Linked DNA regions of Homo sapiens: region 1 is linked to region 2. The links are contacts of gene promoters, found by promoter capture Hi-C in human tissues and cell types (Jung and others, 2019). All regions are on one chromosome and are shown on one strand. The core of a region is centred on a gene start or on the middle of the fragment in contact, and the rest is flanking DNA. Distances in the headings are between cores, read along the strand shown. Region 1 holds the start of LOC124902458 (a long non-coding RNA gene). Region 2 holds the start of NDST2 (N-deacetylase and N-sulfotransferase 2).

What was found. Contacts are between HindIII fragments. The study calls those that stand out against the background at their distance.
Region 1: a contact is called between a fragment that was not itself captured here and the fragment with the promoter of NDST2 in region 2, in 2 of the 25 tissues and cell types used here (lymphoblastoid cells and spleen).

What each region holds. Positions count from the first base shown.
Region 1 is chr10:74,071,621-74,074,541 of GRCh38, reverse strand. It overlaps VCL (vinculin), which reads right to left. Exons shown (of 22, transcript NM_014000.3): 5 at 1,690-1,812. LOC124902458 (a long non-coding RNA gene) reads left to right here and starts at 1,764. Exons shown (of 2, transcript XR_007062200.1): 1 at 1,764-1,840; 2 at 2,478-2,792. The HindIII fragment of the contact is 3,366 bases long and covers 1-2,921 here.
Region 2 is chr10:73,810,329-73,813,028 of GRCh38, reverse strand. NDST2 (N-deacetylase and N-sulfotransferase 2) reads left to right here and starts at 1,431. Exons shown (of 15, transcript NM_003635.4): 1 at 1,431-1,555; 2 at 2,126-2,230. It overlaps CAMK2G (calcium/calmodulin dependent protein kinase II gamma), which reads left to right. Exons shown (of 23, transcript NM_001367534.1): 23 at 1-528. It overlaps NDST2-ZSWIM8-AS1 (NDST2-ZSWIM8-AS1 readthrough), which reads left to right and starts at 1,209. Exons shown (of 18, transcript NR_182658.1): 1 at 1,209-1,555; 2 at 2,126-2,230. RefSeq lists silencers at 917-1,626, 1,927-1,996. The HindIII fragment of the contact is 10,328 bases long and covers 1-2,616 here.

The sequences.
Region 1 (2,921 bases), core at 220-2,719, 260 kb before region 2:
CAAGGTACAAAGACACCATCACAACATGATTAAGTAACTAATTTAACCTGCATATGCTGATGACCTGCAATCACAAAATATCTAATATCCTTCTAAATCAGTTATCATCCTGGCCCTCACCCTGGCTCCATCTACTACAAACCTAATGGGACAATATGAAAACTGTCAGTAATACTCTGAATGGCGTATCCTGCTGCCCCTGATCCCAGCAGAAGATCCCAAGATGTCAAGTTTATCATCCGAGATTTCTCTCAACATGTAGCTTGGATTTGCCAACCCCCAAACATAAAGAAGAAAAAAATAATGTCTGGGCATGGTGGCTCACGCCTGTAATCCCAACACTTTCGGCGTGATCTCGGCTCACTGCAACCTCCGCCTCCTGGGTTTGAGCAATTCTCCTGCCTCAACCTCCTGAGTAGCTGGGATTATAGCCGTCTGCCACCAATCCTGGCTAATTTTTGTTTTGTTTTGTTTTTAGTAGAGACGGGGTTTTGCCATGTTGGCCAGGCTGGTCTCGAACTCCTGACCTCAGGTGATCCACCCACCTCGGCCTCCCAAAGTGCTGGGATTACAGGAGTGAGCCACTGTGCCCAGCCTCCTGAACTCTTATACTCATATGTCCTTTTTTAGCTACTACTTGAAACACCAAAGCAGGTAGCTGGAAGTCACAATGACATGAGTCACCAGATTTTTATAATAAAGTTGCCTTCTGAGAAATAACTAATTAACCCACAACTTGACTAAGATAATTCATATAAACCATGAGCTGTCTGGCATATACTAGACACTCAATAAGTGCTACTCCCTTTTGCTAGTCGAGAGAGCAGCTACCATGTTTGCATTTCAGAGCACTACTCAATGGGAAGGTAGTCCCAGCTGGTGACTAAAGAACTGATCTACTCATGATGTAAACAACAGTTAAATATCTTTTAGGAAAAATTGGATTAATACACACTAAAAAGGGCTCTGAGTTCATGTCTTTATCATATGATGCTCTATAATATCCATTCCAGCTCCTAATTATTTTTCTATAACACAAAGGTGTGAAAATTTAATATCCTAGGCTAGAGTTTATAGAGGAGAGTCCACCTCCCAGCAAAGGGGCTTGTTAGAGCTTTAGGAGAACAGAATTAGGCCACAGAAAGGCAATTTCAAACAAAGAACAGGAGAAGGACAGCATTAGAGAAGAAGACTGGTTCTCAGCCAATCAGCTACAGCCATCATGTGATAACCAATCAATCGGGTCTCATTTTTACCTAGGCTGAAGGACATGCAGTGAAGCCACAAAAGAAAATGAACCTCAGGCCAGGAGCCATGGCTCACGCATGTAATCCCAGCACTCTGGGAGGCTGAGGCAGGCAGATCACGAGGTCAAGAGATCAAGACCATCCTGGCCCACATGGTGAAACCCCGTCTCTACTGAAAATACAAAAATTAGCTGGGCATGGCAGTGCGCACCTGTAGTGCCTGCTACTCAGAAGGCTGAGGCAGGAGAATCGCTTGAACCCAGGAGGCAGAGGTTGCAGTGAGCCGAGATCGCACCACTGCACTCCAGCCTGGCAACAGAGTGAGACTTCATCTCAAAAAAAAAAAAAAGAAAAGAAAACAAAAGAAAACAAAATGAACCTCAGAGTTTAGAACATGCTAACATTTTTCCCCCCTATAAAATAAAGTACAGGCAGGAAGTACCTGAAATGAGAACTGGCAGCAACTCTTTCACGGTGTTCATCGAGTTCACCAACATCACTCGGTGCTCCTGGTGAGTGAGCTCCTGCTGTCTCTCGTCAATCATCTTGGCCATCTTAGTCATTCCTGGGGCACAAAGAAGAAATTGTGCAGGGTGAGTAGTGAAACAATCCCGGGTCTGGCTTTCTCAGTCTAAATCCATTATGAAATACTATGAAAGTTCAAACCGATTGCTCACTTATTTAAACAACAGACACCATCACTGAACTCTAATTTATGCAACATTACTCTTTTCAATGAAAGTAATGTATTAAATGTAAACACTAAATGTGATAAACATTTTCATATTTTGATATAAATATATTCACAAATATTAAACATCTAAATGAATAAATATATATTTATTAAAAAGAAATTCACAGGTAAGGGAAAAACATTTTGCCAGGCTTCTATGCATACAGGTTTCATGCCATGTCTCTGAACTCTGTGCTAAAAATCTCACATGAGCCTAGTACTGAATCTAGTGGCTGAAAAAAGTTCTAAGAATAACAATGATATGTTTTGTTTTCATATTTCTATTTGTCTGTACTTTCCAATTTGTCCAAAATAAGCATGTACTAGTTTTATAATTAGAAACAAATAGAAATATTATAAAAATAATTATAGGGATGACAGTGTTTGAAAGCATCTGGTGTTTTGGAATCACTCTGCTAGCACTTTTTGTTTATGTTGGTTGTTATTCAAAGGCGCTATGTGATTCTCTAAAGCTTTGATTTTCAAATTACTCCTAGGATTTCTCAAGTTGTCTCACAGACCATCAAGACCAAAGAGAAGCAGAGGTGGGGCTGCTCCTGCTTCACCTAAAGTAGCTCCATTTTGTCTTTTTTTGTTTGGGGATTCTGCATAAGATTCCATTTGGGGAAATATAATTTTCGCCAGTATTATGAGAAATTTTAAGAGGACTACTCTAAAGCCACCAGAGAAACCTATTTCCAGGTGATCTTCAGTGATGGCTCAAATTCTTAACTGCCATTAAGTTTTACAGAACACCTACACTGGAACCTCATAAAAATGCTGTTAATTAAAAATCAACATTTCACATAAAACAAATGAATTTTATAAAGTGATAACAATCAAGTTAAGCAGGTTAAACATCTAACATATCTTGTCATTGGTCTCATTCATACTTTAAAGACCCTCAAGTTCATGTTATATGTCTGTAACATCAAAAGCTG
Region 2 (2,700 bases), core at 182-2,681:
CCTGGACTACCTTCAGGAGGCACGAGAGCTGGGAGAAGAGGCAAAGCTACAGGTTTACTTGGGAGCCAGCTGAGAAGAGAGCAGACTCACAGGTGCTGGTGCTTGGATTTAGCCAGGCTCCTCCGAGCACCTCATGCATGTCCCAGCCCCTGGGCCCTAGCCCTTTCCTGCCCTGCAGTCTGCAGTGCCAGCACGCAAATCCCTTCACCACAGGGTTTCGTTTTGCTGGCTTGAAGACAAATGGTCTTAGAATTCATTGAGACCCATAGCTTCATATGGCTGCTCCAGCCCCACTTCTTAGCATTCTTACTCCTCTTCTGGGGCTAATGTCAGCATCTATAGACAATAGACTATTAAAAAATCACCTTTTAAACAAGAAACGGAAGGCATTTGATGCAGAATTTTTGCATGACAACATAGAAATAATTTAAAAATAGTGTTTGTTCTGAATGTTGGTAGACCCTTCATAGCTTTGTTACAATGAAACCTTGAACTGAAAATATTTAATAAAATAACCTTTAAACAGTCCATTGTGTTACTGCTGTTGGAGGTTTACGGCCAGAGGCGTAGATTTTAGCAGCCTGGCTTACCAGGTTGGAGAGAGTACCTCCTCCTACTCCCTTTGGGTACTTTTGAGAATAAAACTTCCTCATGCCTGTAATCCCAGTACTTTGGGAGGCCGACGCGGGCGAATCACGAGGTCAGGAGTTCGAGACCAGCCTGGCTAATATGGTGAAACCCCGTCTCTACTAAAAAATACAAAAAATTTAGCTGGGCATAGTGGCGGGCGCCTGTAATCCCAGCTGCTCGGAAGGCTGAGGCAGGAGAATCGCTTGAACCTGGGAGGGGGAGGTTGCAGTGAGCCGAGGTCGCGCCACTGCACTCCAGCCCAGGCGACAGAGTGAGACTCCGTCTCAAAAAAAAAAAAAAAAAAAAAAAAAAAAAAAAAAAACTTCTCATAAACAGCCTCCAAACAGCGCTCGGTGCTGCGCAGGCGACGCGGGGCGGGGAGGGAGGGTGAGTGCCCTGGGAGCCGGCTGAGGGCCTCGCCCCGCCCCTGGTCCCGCCTCCGGTTAGGCCGCTCCGCCTCTTACTCCTCCCCTCCCCCGAGTGGGCCGGCCCGGCTCCCCCTCCGCGGGGCTGAGTGGATGAGCCCAGGCCTGAGCCCGCCCCTGCTCCGAAGTCGTGGTCCCCGACGCTCGGCCGGCAGTGCCATCGCGCGGAGAGGAGGGGGTGCGCTTCCGCGGGCGGGGCGCGGAGCCCGCCGTCTCGGAGGCCGCGGCTCGGCCCGGCACTGCGGAGGGCCGCTTGATTTCCCGGAACCCAGGTCGCGCGGCTGCTAGGGCCGGAGCCGGTGGATCCGAGCGGGTGCCACCAGCGGCGGCGCGCCGCCTCCCCCGGTGGGAGCGGTGGTTGGGCCAGGCTGCGGCAGAGCGTTCGCTCGGAGATGGCGGAGCAGCCGCGACGCGGCCCGTGGCCCCGAAAGCAGGGAAGCCGGGCAGCCCCGGGACGCGGCGGAGCCCGGGGACAGCGGGGACGCCGCCCAGTCCTCCGGGTGAGCCGCCCCTGAGGAGACCCCCCCGCCCACGGTCGCGCTCAGGCCCCCCCAACAGACTCCCTTGGATGTTGCCACCATCACCACCCGCAGGGTCGTCCCGGGCGGCCCAGCGTGCGCCGCGCCCCGGGTCCTTTCCGCCGGCCTCCCTCAGAACCGCCTCGCTCCCCTCCGGACCGGGCGGGCTCCCTTCTTCCCGCAGGGCTCTCCCAGCCCAGAGGCTGTCTCGATGTCACCCCGGAGTCGCCGCCGCGCGCCTGTGGCCCCTTCCCCTTTGGTGTCCCACATCCGGTGCGCTCTTCGCATCCACCTGTGCCCCCGTCTCCTCTCGGCGGGGCCCCTCCACCCGCCAGCCCCGGGCCCCCTCGGCGCCCGCAGCCTCCGCGCCGCTGCTCCGGCCGTCCCGGCCTCCCCAAGCCCGGGCCCGGCCCCGGCCCCCGTCTGGCTTCGCCGTCCTCAGAGATCTCCCGCACACACCCACCCCGCCCAGCCCTGCTGGCCCTCAGTGTTCACTGGCCCGGCCTGCGGCGCTCCCGGCGCCCCTTCCCTAAACCTTGCTGCTTCTTCCAGGTATGAAGCTAAAATGCAGCGGCTAAGAACGCGGCTCTGGAGCTTGACAGGCCTGACGTCGAATCCCAGCCCTCCCACCAACTGAGCTGTGTGATCCTGGGCAAGGTTCTAAGCTTCTCTGAGTTACTCATATGTGAAATGGGGATAATGGAGCATGTACCTTTTCCCTACCTCTTAGGGCTGGTGTGAAGATTAAATATATGTGAAGCTCTTAGAAGAATGGCTGGCAAGTTGTAATTTCTCAAATACGGGATGATACACCCTGAGTATCAACTTCCCGTCAGTGACCTCCTCACTACAATGTTTTCTCTAAAGTTGCATCACATTCTTAGCATTCACCCCTTCCCGTCACCATTTTGATCCTCTCCCCCAGCTGTCTTCTCGTGTCGTTTTACCTAGGCCAAAGCTGAACTGTTTTATTTTTATTTTTATTTTTATTTTTTTTTGAGCTGGAGTCTAGCTCTGTCACCCAGGCTGGAGTACAGTGGCACAATCTCAGCTCACTGCAATTTCCGCCTCCCACGTTCAAGTGATTCTCCTGCCTCAGCCTCCTGAGTAGCTGGGACTACAGGCGC